3 separate regions of the Homo sapiens genome follow, and regions 2 and 3 are each linked to region 1. The links are contacts of gene promoters, found by promoter capture Hi-C in blood cells and fetal thymus (Javierre and others, 2016). All regions are on one chromosome and are shown on one strand. The core of a region is centred on a gene start or on the middle of the fragment in contact, and the rest is flanking DNA. Distances in the headings are between cores, read along the strand shown. Region 1 holds the start of KRTAP23-1 (keratin associated protein 23-1). Region 2 holds the start of KRTAP15-1 (keratin associated protein 15-1). Region 3 holds the start of KRTAP24-1 (keratin associated protein 24-1).

What was found. The method cuts DNA at HindIII sites, captures the fragments that hold promoters and counts their contacts. A CHiCAGO score of 5 or more calls a contact.
Region 2: the fragment with the promoter of KRTAP15-1 here is called in contact with the fragment with the promoter of KRTAP23-1 in region 1 in 3 of 17 cell types (neutrophils, total B cells and naive B cells); the score reaches 7.1 in neutrophils.
Region 3: the fragment with the promoter of KRTAP24-1 here is called in contact with the fragment with the promoter of KRTAP23-1 in region 1 in 2 of 17 cell types (neutrophils and naive B cells); the score reaches 7.4 in neutrophils.

Annotation. Positions count from the first base shown.
Region 1 is chr21:30,345,865-30,350,925 of GRCh38, forward strand. It overlaps KRTAP23-1 (keratin associated protein 23-1), which reads right to left and starts at 2,742. Exons shown (of 1, transcript NM_181624.1): 1 at 2,535-2,742. The coding sequence starts at 2,742. The coding sequence ends at 2,545. The HindIII fragment of the contact is 4,066 bases long and covers 1-3,458 here.
Region 2 is chr21:30,437,814-30,442,874 of GRCh38, forward strand. It overlaps KRTAP15-1 (keratin associated protein 15-1), which reads left to right and starts at 2,462. Exons shown (of 1, transcript NM_181623.3): 1 at 2,462-3,056. The coding sequence starts at 2,515. The coding sequence ends at 2,928. The region is part of intron 3 of LOC105372772 (a long non-coding RNA gene); the gene reads right to left. The HindIII fragment of the contact is 9,658 bases long and covers 1-3,286 here.
Region 3 is chr21:30,280,176-30,285,236 of GRCh38, forward strand. It overlaps KRTAP24-1 (keratin associated protein 24-1), which reads right to left and starts at 2,775. Exons shown (of 1, transcript NM_001085455.3): 1 at 1,134-2,775. The coding sequence starts at 2,757. The coding sequence ends at 1,993. The HindIII fragment of the contact is 2,357 bases long and covers 2,076-4,432 here.

The DNA.
Region 1 (5,061 bases), core at 1,492-3,991:
TTAAGGGGTCTTCATTGGGAAGGAGGATTGTTGAAGGTTTTAAATGAGTGTCTCATTTAAAAACATGTTATCTACGAGTAACAGAAATTGTAATTCAAAATGGCTTAAGCGATAAGAAATTTTATTGGCTTACATAAACCAGTGTCCAGAAGTGAGATGGTCCAGGTTCTGTCCTCCTGCATTTCTCTTGGTTCTGGCCTCTTTCATTTGATGGTTTAATTTTCAGGTTAGATCGGGTATGGTGGCTCACACCTGTAATCCCAGCACTTTGGGAGGCTGAGGCAGGCAGAACACTTGAGGTCAGGAGTTCGTCAACAGCCTGGCCAACATGGCAAAACCCCATCTCTACAAAAAATACAAAAACTAGCTGGGCGTGGTGGCATGCACCTGTAATCCCAGCTACTCAGGAGGCTGAGGCAGGAGAGAATCGTTGGAGGCAGGAGAGAATCACTTGGAACCAGGAGGAAGAGGTTATAGTGAGCTGAGATTGTGCCACTGCACTCCAGCCTGGGCAACAGAGGGAGACCCTGTCTCAAGAAAAAAAAAAAAAATTCAGGCCATATGCAAAACGGATGCAGCATTCCACATATAACAAAGTCCAGAGGTAGAGAGAATCGTTTTAAGAAATCCCAGAGACACTTTGGGAGGCCGAGGTGGGCAGATTGCGAGGTCAGGAGATCGAGACCATCCTGGCTAACACGGTGAAACCCCGTCTCTACTAAAAATACAAAAAATGAGCCAGGCATGGTGGCAGGCGCCTGTAGTCCCAGCTACTCGTGAGGCTGAGGCAGGAGAATGGCGTGAACCCAGAAGGCGGGGCTTGCAGTGAGCCGAGATTGCGCCACTGCACTCTAGTCTGGGTGACAGAGCAAGACTCCATCTCAGAAAAAAAAAAAAAAAAAGAAAGAAACCCCAGAGAAGGAACTTTACCAGAAGCATTGTTCCACATGGCTCCTTGTTTCTCATTGGCTTACCTCAGATCACATGCTCATTCCTGAGCCAATCACTTTCAGTAGGCATTGGGGCGCTCTAGAGTAGCCAAATTCAATCCTTAAGCCTAAGGCATAATCACGTTCATTTGCAGGACTATGTGTGGACGAGGAGGGATGCACAAACAAAATCCAATTTCCATAGAAAGAAGAGCGAGAAGGAAAACAGCTGTGAGAGCAGTGAACGATGAGCTACCCACCTCCATTTAGATATTTGAAAATGTATATGACTGTGTTCCACTTAATGTAAGAATATAATGGACTGTCTAGTTTTGCATCCAGATACAAGCCCAGGATATCAAGAGGTAAAGTCTTATCTCTCAGTCCGTGTCACCTATGCATGATACTGCCAGGTTTCAGACAGTTTTCAGGTGACTTCTATTATAACACCGGATGGCTTTATAGTGACCTAATGAAAGGAGGAGGGAGTGAACCATCAAATTAAAAAAAAAAAAACTCTTAGATATTATATTCTTCTTATTATAGTGGAATGCATACATCTTTAATTTCATGTATACCTAAACTATTTGTTTCATTACACTTGCTACTGAACTCAGTTAAAATCCTGACCTCAGAATTTCATTGTGGCTTATATATGTCTGGGAAGGAAGATTACAGGAAGGATTTTGATAATGTTCTCATAAAAACAGCCAGGCTAGTACTTGCTAAAACATCACTGCTGTCTCTGGATATTTTCTTCCTAGACTAGACCCATGAGTAGCTTAACCAAAGTGAAGTGTCCTGATTAGGCCTAAATGGCCATGAATAGAAAAACAGAGATAATCTCCTGTCCTATCTCTGAGTCTACTTGGCAGAAATTCCCAGGAACTAGATCTCTGTTGTTAGAAAACTCTGCCTATCAAGGAACCTACTCCTTTCCCTCAAAGTGAATATTTTATTTTTAGACAAAAAGTGGGGGTTTCAAATTCCCGACAGACATCTTATAAAGAAAATTAACACAAGATTTGTGATCTGATATCAGATTAAATGAGTTTATTTGAAGAAAAAGAAATCAACTCTTGCTCCATTTTTAACTAGAGAAGGAAGGGAAAATACAAGAAAACAGAAGAAAAAGAGATGAGTATTCTATGAGAAATGTTATTTTAATATTAATAAGTTTAAAACAATTATCTTTTCTGGATAGTAGAATATAGGTTCTAGCCAGATGATAGCTGAGATGGACTTTGAGAGAAATAATTGTAATGTGGAGGTTTGGAGCCCTTAGCAAGTTGATCGGTAGAAGCCAGATCCACAAGTTGGTCTGTAACAGGAAGACTGGAATGTCCTAAAGAGAACATATGTTGGGTGGCAGAATCCAGATCCATAGCCCAGGGAAGGGAAGCCACAGCCTCCATAACCCAGGGATCTGACGCCACTGGACCCACGGCCCACTGAGTAGCAGCTCCTAGATCCATAGCCCAGGGAGCGGCAGCTGCTGGATCCAAAGCCTAGAGACTCAGAGTAAGTCGACTGGCAGGGACTGCAGAGCACGGAGCTTCTGGGGCGGTAGCAGGAGGTCTGGCAGGGGCTGGACTCCACACAGGACATCTGGCAGCTAGGGGTTTCCCAGCAAGTCTCCTGAAAGCCCTTGCAGAGAGAGGAACCCAGCTGGCAGGTGCTGGGAGATCAAAGGTTCAGTGCTGTAGACCAGGTTGCTGGGGTACGAGGAGCCACCACGGGAGTAGCCTGAGTAGCACAGGTAGCCCTCACAGGAATGGGAGGAGAAGTTTCCACAGCAGCAGTTGTAGGACATGTTGACAGGAGATGTGAGTTCAGCTGAGCTGCATTGAGAAGATGCCCTGATGTCCCTGCCTGTGCCCAATGATCCAGTGATGTTTACACCCTCACACTGCTGGGCGTGATGCAGTATCCGGGAACCCCCCCATTCTTGTGAATGTGTTTTCATCAAATGACTAAGTAACCTAGGTTATAATTATAACTCAACACATTCATTTGTCTTTAACAGCAGTGTAATCATTCCAGTTTATAGAAGCCCATTGGCTTCTCTCTCTCTCTCTCTCTGTCTCTTTCTCTCTCTCTCTCTCTCTCTCTCTCTCTGCAGAAATAAGGTTTGGTTTGCTTTCAGAAACATTGGTGATGATACATACAGTGCCTCCCCACCCCTTTTACTGAGCTTGACTGTGGGTATTCTGAGCTTCAGCCTACAAATTCTTACCAGCAATGTACTCCCAACAGTAATCAGCAGCCACCCACCCCCCATTATTTACATATGTTTTATTAAGCATTAACTACATGCGCAACATTTAAAAGTGTGGTATGATTTAATCTTTGCAAATATCTTATGAGATACAAGTTGTCATAAACAATTTAGAAGTAAGGCCATGGAGGTTTGGAAAAGTTATGTAACATTCAGGTAATAAATCAAACAAATCATGGACCCCATGTCATCCCAGGTGTGTCTGTCTTTAAGGCTAGCACAAACCACAGAGCTATATAGACAATTTGTGAAGCTTGTAATTTCTGCTCCCAGAATCACATGGACAATTGAGTATGCAGGTGAAAAAAAAATTCCAAGGTGTTAATATTTGCATTTCATCTGATATATCTACTTGAGTATTCTTACCCCTTTTATGAATTCCCCAAATATAGCCAACTGAGGGGACAGCTTCTTAATTGATTTTGGTTATTTTTTTAGTATTCAGAGTTACTATGGAGATGCTTTGTTACAAATTATCTTCTATTTGCCCTCTCACTCAGTTTATCCTAGTTAAGCAACTCATGTTTTATCCACCATGGAGTTATTAGATTCTTTTTCAGTGTGAGGCAGAAAATTCTTTGGCAAACACAGACTTTCACTGGGACTAGTTGCGAAAAACTGATATGCCTTTAGTGAGTTGACTACCAATAAAATACATTTGCAGAAGCTTGAATTTTAATAGGGTGCCGACCTTTTGCCAACTCAGTTGGGAGTGAGAAATACGACACCTTCCAGAGTGATTCATTTCACTCCTTGCTGAGCTTCTCTTGTTCATCCTTCTAGGAAGACAAAGCAGCATAAAATTTACCATTATATTAAGTGGTTAAAATTATCTTTACCACTATAAAACATCAGTGGTATAAAGAAAAATCTTGGAATTAGAAATGTCTTTTTCCCCACTTGTTATCATATCCAACTTCTGCCTTCAAGCATCTTTTAGAAATTGGAAAGCAAAAAGCTATTTATGTAATTTGATCTTTTCAAACTGTTTCATAGATGATTGTTTTTTGTAATCTCCTGTAATATTTGCTTATCTGGCAACAATGGAATATTTTGTCCATTGTTTTGCTAACAAATTTCTACCAAATGCATTGCTCACATTGCACCAAATCCCTTTGTGAAAGATGTACCAAAATGGAGTCATTTATGTCAAACTCTAACAAAATGGGGTCAAGAGAGGCCACAAAAAAAATCCTCGTGCACACATGCCTGTAACAAGGGTTATCACAAGACCTTCTTCAAATTGCACTATTCCAGATAAATAGGTTCCAGGACAGTTACCTAGCAACAGCTGTCTTTACCAATAAACAAATGTCAACTCCTACAATGAGCTTTTGACCCGTGAACTTGTCTCAAAGCAGCTTACCTGGACCTCTCTTTGTATTTAAAAACTTCTCCTGTGCCCTAACCCCTTGGATGTGCCTATGATCCATCATCCACCATAGCATGCACATTCCTAGATTGCACTTCGCTGCTCTTTCCAATTAAAACTCATTTGTTCTGAAGAGCATATGTGAGTTTCTTTTTAGGTTGACACTTCTCATCCCTCAATGCCAAAATCAAACTCCTCCTATCAGATAGGTGTTCATCTCAACTAGACTTAGCTCTTCAGGAACAAAGATCTCAGTATTTTGTAATCTAGTTCACACACACACACACTGTGGAGGATTTGCAAGGGATGTACTTTGAAATGGCTCATGCAGGATGAATAATATTTCAGCTTGCAGGGAAATTACATATGTGAGAAGAACGAAGAACGCAATGCACAGAAGTTTTGTGGGGTGAGTGATGATGCTTAGTCTTCTTTGACCTAATTCCTGGCACATCATGGGTGCTCATAGATTATTTATATCA
Region 2 (5,061 bases), core at 1,212-3,711, 92 kb after region 1:
ATCTGGAAAAGATTCCTGTTTTAAAGAAAGTTTATAAAGTAACTGCTTTGAGATGGTGAGACAAAGGCAGCATCTTAGGAAGATTCTTCCTTTGCCTCAAAAATAACATACATGACTTTGACGTAAATTATTTTCAGGTGTTTCTGACAGGTATTACAACACTTCTAAAATAATGGTCATATTTTCTCTTGTTCTGTGACTTGTATTTCACCTTGATGTAATGGTGTAATGAGACTGATATCTTGAGGAAGAGGAGAGATTGAGATTTATCTTGCTGTGGTTTCTGTGTTGTTTGATTTGCTCATTTTTAGAAAAAAGTTTCCATTCCACTTCTGAATGAAAGTAGTTGAATGCAAAAAAATCCATACTTTGAGAAAAGAATGTGCGACATTACTTAATATCTGATCCCTCAGAGTATTCTTCTACTGAAATTGCTTATATAGGAATGGATGACATTAAAACAAGAAAGCAACTTCAATTTAGGCGGGCTAAATATTTGTGTGGCTATTTTGATATTCAATATTTTATTGACAAACACAACAGGAAGATTTGGAATCTACTAGAATGCTTTTTGGCTATTAATAATTGAGAAGCCTAATAAATAAGAATTGTTTATTCCAGAAACACAGAACAAACTATGTTACTTAATAAATGAAACATGATTGGAGATCAATTTGTCTCCTCAAAAGTTTAGACTTATAAAGTCTACAATTTGGAAGGAAGTTGAGCAATTATCTCCAGCCTCCTGTCAGATTGGAATTCCACTTACAACATCCTAATTAGATTTTCCCAGGGCCCTCAGTATGGAAATATCATTAATTGCAAGAGCAACTCATTTTAGATTTTTAGCTGAATCTTCCCCTAAAACTTTTACCTAGTAATCCTGATTCTTCATAGAAGGGAGTCTCAGTTCACTTCCATTGTAGAATACATCAGTTCTGAAGATGGATGTCTTAAGAGGTTTGCCCATTCCCACAGGTTAAGGCATTTCCTGCATCCGTGCCATATATCTATTTACAGTTTGCTCTGATGAACTTTCTGAGCGAATCCAGAAAAATCCTCATTACTCTAGTACTCTAGGCAGAATATATATGTCAGCTGATACATCAGAGGTCACAAAGGCATTCACTCTCAATTACACATTATCATCATGTATCCTTCCCACCCCTTTATTTCAATTTATAAAGTCATTTGTTACTATGAATTCTTTACATATTTTATCTTTCTGTGAATACTACATGGGATAGACATTTCCCTCATTTCTTGCTTTTCTTTTCCCTCTCTGGTAAAAATGTCACCCTCTGAGAGAAAAGAAAGGAAAAGATTAACGATTTACATTTTACTTATAGTGCTTATTATTTTCCTCTCAGTAACATCAACATGACCAAAAATTACTTATACCTTATGGGGATAAACGGTTTTTTATAATCAAACTTATTGATGACTTCTATGAAGAAGCAAATCAACCTTTGAGTAAGGGATTTCTTTAGTAGTTTTACAATGTAAACTTCAAAGCACTTGTTCAAAAATTTCACCCTTCATTCTTAACTCTTCATGTGCACAAGAGTGACTTAGCTACTTGTGTTATAAGAAATCTAAACTTAAATATGTTAGGCACTCATTTAGCATGTCTACCAAATAAGGATTGTTATTGGGTTATTTCTTCTAATGGTTCAAAGAATTGAAAGAAGGAATAGATATTGAAATTTTTTTTCTGTTCTCAATTGAATTTATAAAATTGGAGCAAGATCAAAGTCCCTTCCAGATTACAAGGTATTTTTCAGATCTTTACAAATACCAGAACTCTCAGTGTCTTAGCCGTTTGATCCAATTTCTAGAAGGACAGGATGAATGAAGCATCAAGTTTTTTTCTTTGTTTTTTTGTTTCTTTGTTTGTTTGTTTGTTTTGGAGATGGAATCTTGCTCTGTCTCCCAGGCTGGAGTGCAGTGGTACGATCTCGGCTCACTGCAAACTCCGCCTCCCGGGTTCAAGCAATTCTCCTGCCTCAGCCTCCTGAGTAGCTGGGATTACAGCCGCCCACCACCATGCCCGGCTAATTTTTGTATTTTTAGTAGAGACGGAGTTTCACCATGTTGGTCAGGCTGGTCTGGAACTCCTGACCTCGTGATATGCCTGCCTCAGCCTCCCAAAGTGCTGGAATTACAAGTGTGAGCCTCCGCGCCCGACCCTTTGAAGCATCAGTCTTATAGGTACAATTATGGTGGTTTTCATTCTACCTAAGCAAGATGAATGAGAAATGGCATTTTTGTTTCATGAACAATTGCTTTGAAAAACTAATGAAATTCTTTCATGTAGAAGTCTACGTTCATAAATAAAATTCTTTGAGTGTTAATATATTTCATTTTGACTGCAGCCTAATTAAGTGTTCTCATTAGAATGGGCACTTGTGACTACACCTATTGCTAGAGTATGTCAGTGTCCAGTATAGAAGGTAACATTCACACACACACGCTCCTCACTGCAAATCACCTGAGCTCAGAACTCCTGTTAACATGTCTTACAACTGCAGCTCTGGAAACTTCTCCTCCTGCTGTTTTGGAAGTTACCTGAGGTATCCAGTTTCCACTTATAATTTGTTCTACCCCAGCAATGCCATCTATTCTCCAAATACCTGCCAACTGGGCTCCTCTCTCTACAATGGCTGTCAGGAGACCTACTGTGAGCCCACCAGCTGCCAGACATCCTGCACTTTGGCCAGATCCTATCAGACATCCTGTTACTGCCCAAAGAATTCCATCTTCTGCAGTCCCCGCCAGACTAACTACATAAGATCCCTTGGATGTGGAAACACTGGCCTTGGATCTCTTGGTTGTGGAAGCACTGGCTTCCAATCTCTGGACTGTGGGTCCAGCTTCTACCACCCAACTACCTTTTCATCCAGGAATTTCCAGGCAACTTGTTACTAACCAGCCTTTGGGTCTCGCCTTTTTGGATCATCTTACTGAATATTCTCCATTCTCTCATGATTATTTCTGTACTCTATGGAACTGCAACACTCAGCCTGTCCAATATCTGTGATTGTTGACCATCTACATCAGTAGGACTCAGCATCCTAGCCCTCTTGGAAGTATATGATTGAACACGGACAAATTAATCTTGACCTAGGACCCTTCCTAAATCTGACAGGAGATATATCTTGAATTTCAATTTTTGTGCCAATGCTCAGGATCATTTCTGTTATCATCTTTCTAAAATCCTTCTCTCATTATTTTCCCAGAACTCTTCCACTCAAATATATTTCAAATAGTTACAATATTTTAAATAAGCTTATTTCTTTGGCATGAATTCTGGCATTCCATTTTATTTTGTTAATACAATACACTTAGGCTGGGCATGATGGCTCACACCTGTAATCCCAGCACTTTGGGAGACTGAGGCTGGCGGATCACTTTAGGTCAAGAGTTTGAGGCCATCCTGGCCAACACAGTGAAAACCCATTTCTACTAAAAATACAAAAATTAGCAAGGCCTGGTGTGCACCTATAATCCCAGCTACTCAGGAGGCTGAGGCAGGCGAATCACTTGAATCTGAGAGACGGAGGTTGTAGTCAGCTGAGATCATGCCACTACACTCCAGCCTGGGCAACAAAGTGGGACTCTGTGTCAAAAAATAAATAAATAAATAAGTAAAAATGATACATTTAGTGAATTCATCCCATATCTTCAACTGTCTTCCTTAGGTACACTTTTTGTTTGTTTCATATGTTTTATTGATATTTTGTTGAATAGAAAACAAAGTGCAAAGAAAATTTAAATATATAACCTATCACATGTTTTAAGAGATTTAAATCCCCTCATAAGTGCATTTTTTATATATTTGCTTCAGAAAATTTTGTTTTAGTCTTTCATTGAAAAAAAATTTATTGAGGTCCTATTATATACCAAGCATTACGCTGAACAAAGACACAAATTCTCTGCTTCAGGAAGTTCCCACAAATACAATTATAACTTATATGGCAAATGGAATAATGGGGTGAAGACAAGATTCAGTGGGAACACAAAGAAGAACTTCAAAAACACTCAGAGAAAATAATATAAACCCATTATTGAAAATAGAGTAAATAAGTTACACTTAATTTTAGAATAACAAATCTTACTGATCTATTGTGTCCATTGCAGTCCCTTGAAAAGCAGCTGCCAAATGGGATTAAACATAAAAAAGATTTATTGGTGAAAATGCCAGTGATAGATAATGGGGAGGTAGTTGGAGAGGTCTGGGAGAGCCATACTACTGTGGAGTATGTCTAGCCTCAGTGAAGGACAGAGGGAACTAAGTTTGGTCTAGAAGAAACTTCTTTAAGAAACTCCCCATCGGGCGTGGTGGCTCATGCCTGTGATCCCAGCGCTTTGGGAGGCCGAGGCGGGTGGATCGCGAGGTCAGGAGATCGAGACCACCCTGGCTAACACGGTGAAACCCCGTCTCTACTAAAAATACAAAAAATTAGCCGGGCCTGGTGGCGGGTGCCTGTAGTCCCAGCTACTCGGGAGGCTGAGGCAGGAGAATGGCGTGAACCCGGGAGGCAGAGCTTGCAGTGAGCCAAGACAGTGCCACTGCACTCCGGCCTGGGCGACAGAGCGAGACTCCGTCTCAAAAAAAAAAAAAGAAAAGAAAAGAAAAGATAAGAAAAAAAAAGAAACTCCTTTAGGGCAATTCTAAGAAAGTTTTGGCAAGTCACCCATCAAAGGAGCCTTACATATCACCAAAATGGGCCTGCCTTAGCATCCTTGCCAAGAGTATTTACTAACAAGAATGGATGACAGCACAACCTTGGCACAGAAGTGATGGTAGATTCAAAGACCAACTGCTGTAGCTGTCAATCAGTCAGTAATGCTCCCTGAAGCAGAAGATTTAAGAGGTACATTTGCATAGCTTCCATCTTCATGATATTTATTCTGATCCTAAGTAAGCTCAGCACTGATAAACAGTGGTAAAATAATAAATAATAACTTGGAATTTTTCATGTTTTTCTTACTTTGATCAAAATGTCAATTATTATGTCAGACCCTATAGAGGACCCACTGAATGAAAATCTAACCCTA
Region 3 (5,061 bases), core at 1,525-4,024, 66 kb before region 1:
TATATGGTCAATAGATCATTGCTAAGGGCAACTATACAGTATTTTTCTCAATACGAAGAAGAAATTTTCAGCAAATAGAATTCTCTGAAAATTGAACGAACTCACACAGGAGTGACTTGATTATTCCCAGCCTCATTCAAGCAGAAGCAGTGCATTAATATTTCTTCTAAAGCCCTTTGTACACACAGTAGTCCTACTGAAGGAATGAATGACATATTAGCTCTATTTATATGCTTCGTGAGTTTTAATTTTAAACATTGACTCTTGATATTGGGGTTTCTTCCCCATCTTTCCAGACTTCAGTTACACCCATCTCTGGGGATCATTTTATTTTTCTTTAAATATGATTTGCTTTTTATTTACAAAAATGCTTAGGGTATTTATCATGTTGTTTTCACCACTCAAATAGATGATTTTATTTTCATTTTTTGGGTAATAACTTACAGAGGTTAAATGACTTCTAGGAGGTTCAATATTAAATTTATTTAACTGCTGAAACCTTATCTACAAAACCAATAAATACACATACTGTGCTGAGAAATAAACGTATGTTTAATACTCTATGTACTCTTTATTAAATTGATTTATGTTTCCAAATTTCTGTATATCAATATTAATGTAGACATTCTAGGTGAGATAAACATAACATGTTAAAAACAGAAAAAAACAAGTCAGAAGCTTGTGATTCCATATTCTACTTTTTTTTTTTTTTTTTGAGACTGAGTTTCACTCTTGTAACCCAGGCTGCGGTGCAGTGGCACAATCTCGACTCATTGCAACCTCCGCCTCCCGGGTTCAAGAGATTCTACCTCCTCAGCTTCCCAAGTAGCTGGGATTACAGGCATATACCACCACGCCCGGCTAATTTTTTTTTGTATTTAGTAGAGACGGGGTTTCACCATGTTGGTCAGGCTGGTCTCGAACTCCTGACCTTAGGTCATACACCTGCCTTGGCCTCCCAAAGTGCTTGGATTACAGGCATGAGCCACCGCATCTGGCCCCTTCTTTGTATCTTTAATTTAGACTCTAAACTAAATGGCAGGAAAGCAGCATTTTGACAATGCTATGTATATTGCCCAGAATATGGATGAAATTTTAGTAAATGTGAAATAAAGCATAAGGAAAGCCATTACTTCCAGACAGAAATTTGTTTATTAACTAAGAACTAGGACATTTTCCAGAGTCAGAATGCAATAAATTGGCAAGGCAAGATGATAGGAGAATCCTAAACGCAGATTACACATAATTGTAAAGGGTCTCTAACAGTATTTGTTCTTCTTTCAACAAATAATTTTCATGCTTTAGCTAATTCTGAGGCTTTTTCTTAGGCATGGAGAACAAAAGCTGAGTACCAGTGAATCTTGTTTTATGGCTTCTCTGGAAGAGAAGATTTGCTGAAGTCTTCTATTTTTGAGCTCTAGTCACCATTGCTATTTGCCTGTTCTTACAATCAATCAGTAAGAAAAGGATGAAATAGTTCAACTTATTATGCTCAAGATAGTGTTTTCTATCGGCTTATTAGCAAGGTGCTAGTTAGGTAGTTGACAAAAATATTAATGACAATCAAAGCCATCCGAATGAATTTGCATGCTGGAATCTGCAGTCAAACCATGGAGGCCCCATTTCATCAGGAAAGGTAGGTGATAATCACACTGTCAGACAAGTGACAGTGACAGCCAAAGTAAGAAAGCCGGTGATGGTTGTATTTCAAATGGAGTCTCTTCGGTAAGTCCATTGTAATAAATCTCAGAAATAATGATGTTACCTTCAGGGTCAGCTTTTAGTACAAAGAGCAATAACAGAACAACAGAAAAAAGAAAACCTAGCAGGTGATACTGGCTGTGGTTAATAAACCTGGGAGTTGTATTTGAACTTAATGTAACAAGATTCTTAGGCTGAATAAAGAGATTCAGCAGAAAATTAGACGTTCTAGTACTTAGTAGAATCTTCCCCATTGGGCAATTTCCAGCTGCTATAAATTCTGGAAGTTGGTCAATAGCATTTCAGAGGTCTGCTACCACTGCACAAATACCTCAGAGGTGGAAAGGTACTGGGTATATAGCTCAGAGATCTGAAGCTTCTAGATAAATAGCTCAGTGGTCGGCAGCTCGTAGGCCTGTAGCTTGAATAGTGATAATTTCTCACTAAATAGCTTTGGGGTTGGCAGCTGTTGGAAATATAACATAATGGTGAGACGTAGCTGGGTATGAAGCAAGGATTTTGGTAGCTTTTATACCCCAAAGTACTCAATCTGCAGTGGTTTAGAGTTTGGAAACTCTTGGATAAGCAGTTAAGTTGTCCAAAGCAGTTGGAACCGTTGCGGAGGGTTTGGCAGGCTTTGGATGCATTTCGAGTGGGTATGTGGCAATTGCATACATACCCATTGGTCTGGGTGCTTGGGCTGCAGCTGGGGCTGGGGCTGACGTTGGTAGTTTCACAGACACTGAAGACTTGGCCTGCTGATGGGGAGTTGCAGGGCACAGAGGAGTTTGACGGGTCACAACCAGTGGTACTGCAGGTCTTGGGCTCACAGCTGGGAGATTTGCAGGTTGGTGCTTCACCGTAGGATTCTTGGCAGTAATCCAGGAGCCAGAGATTTCCTTGGTAGCTACTGGGTAAGCAGTGTCCAAAGGTAGGGCTTAAATCACTGGAGCTAAGAGTAACAGAAGAGGTCACTGGGATATAACAGTGAGTTCTGTATGATGTGGTACTGCAGACCCCAGGATAGCCTGTAGTAGACATGGAGCCTGCAGGCATGCTCAGTGGTCGCTGTGCAGTGTGTCTGTGGCCTAAGGACGTTTTATACCTTCCCTGGTGATTGTCAAAAGCCTCTCCAGACTCTTTCTTCTGTCTGCTTGGGGCAATAACACAGCAACATCTCATTAGTGTGTTGGTTAGCCACAGAGGCTAATGTTTTCACACGTGTAAAAATAAGTTTATTTTAATTCTTCAAAGTATCCATAATCACCACTTTGACCATCACCCATCACTCATCATCTGTAGACCATACCTTCAGCAAATAGTGATTTTCATGTTAATAGGCAAACTCTCATCTGTCAATCAGAGGTTAACAAGAGTTCATGGGTCTATGGGCTTCTGCAACATGGTTATTTAAAGGTTCACAAGGACTCAAGTAAAGCAAGTAACCTGTATTTTTCCACGCTGTTAACTACTGGAAAACACTGAAGGACTTAATCATATACTCTGAAATAAGTCAAGTAGTTTGTCTGTCTCAACATGGTTACTCAAAAGCAGGCATTGACCTTTCAAGAATCAGTTTTCCAAATATGTGCTATACTCTTACCTGTGCAGGGCCATATACTGGTAACGGCTTCTCATGTAATGTATTAGGAGAAGTTCATAGGTAAGACTCACAGCAATACTTGGGAAACTTGGTGACCAACACCTGGCTAAAAATGAACTTGTTCCCAGGGGGCATTTGTTGCTAAGCAACCAAGACTTCTGTTAAATCCCTTCTTAAAGAGTGTCGGCAATATGCACTATCAAATAAACCCAGCTTTGCAAGATGATACCTTCCTAATTGACTAAGATTACATATCACATGTTCCATTGCCTGCTGTAAACCCCAATTGCTGTCAGATGTAAATATTTTCCCCGTTTTTCCCCAAATAAGTTCTCTTATTCTTTATTTGCTTTCTTTTGCACCTACACTTTATTTTACTCCTGTGTTGAAAAATGCAGTTATTTTTAGTTTATGTCAATGAAAGGAAATAACTCTTTAAAAGTTTTATCTGAATAAACTGTATAGTTCTTACAAGCACTGTATATATGAAATAGCACTTTTTACTACTCAGGGTGAAGGCTAAAGAATTTTTTTAAAGATTTTAATTTATACTGAAGAACTGAAATTTTGTTCTTCAAATATAAAATTATAATTTATAATTCCAGCCTCTATTGAATTGGAAACAGCAATGCATTTATTAACTGTGAAGAGTTCAGACAGAGAATAGAACAGTCTTCTTCAGGTATAATCAGCTATAGGGATAGTTTTTTAAATTAACTCTCTTTATAGCAAACTATGAGATTTCTCTCACTGTTTTCGGTTACTTTTCAGTCAGATTTTTCAAATGCACAGCAATTTAAACCTACAGATATTCTCTTTTTTTTAAAAAAGATCTCCATTTTCTCAGTGCTTTTCTCAGTATTTGTTCTGTAAGTTGACAATAAGCAATTCTGTATTAAACATGTTTTGCTGCCTTCTGCAGTATCTCTCAGGTGACAAAGGCCACAATCATGAAACTGTATTTCCAGTAAATTGTTTGGCTATAGAGAGCCTTGGGATTTTGTGCGGAAAATGTTAGTCCTGAGGCAGGCAAAATAGGAAAGAAGATACATGGGCAGTTAGTTGACGGCCAACTTTCCGCTAAGTTACTGAGCCCCAGTGATACACAGAAAAGCCACAGGTTGATGAAGCTTTATTTCTACAGTTCTCTATTGTATCATTGTTGCCTCTAGTCTTTTTTTCTTAGGCATCCTTGAAGCAGGTTTGAGGGCTAACACCATTAACAAACACAGAATGAGTTAAGTCAGTTACTGTAAAGCTCACATTCTTCCCTTCCATCTTAAAATTAAATAGTGAGGTATTTTGAATTAATTTGATTCACACAGGTGTAAGTCTAAAAAATAATGTGGAACATCATATGGCATGACCAATATTCAAAGCATGAGCCATTAGAACATATTTAAATTGATTTTGCTATGATAATATTCTAAACAAATAAACAATGAGATTTGAGAAAGGAACCCTAGCTCATTTCCTCTCATTTGCTTTTGTGTTTCCTCTCCTTCCTTACTCAGAACATCACACACCTGTAGAAACAACATCCCATCCCATTCACACCATCATTTTCTGTACATGATTCCTCTGCACAATTGTGTCCTACTCTAATCTCAACCTTTGAAAGAGATGGAGCACACCGCATCAGAAATATAGCAAATATCAGGTTCATAGCGATGGCAGGCTTGAGTAGAAAATAAAGACCATTGTCGTTTGAGTGGCATCGTGGTCTGAAGGCTTTGGAGAGTCATATGCATTTCTCT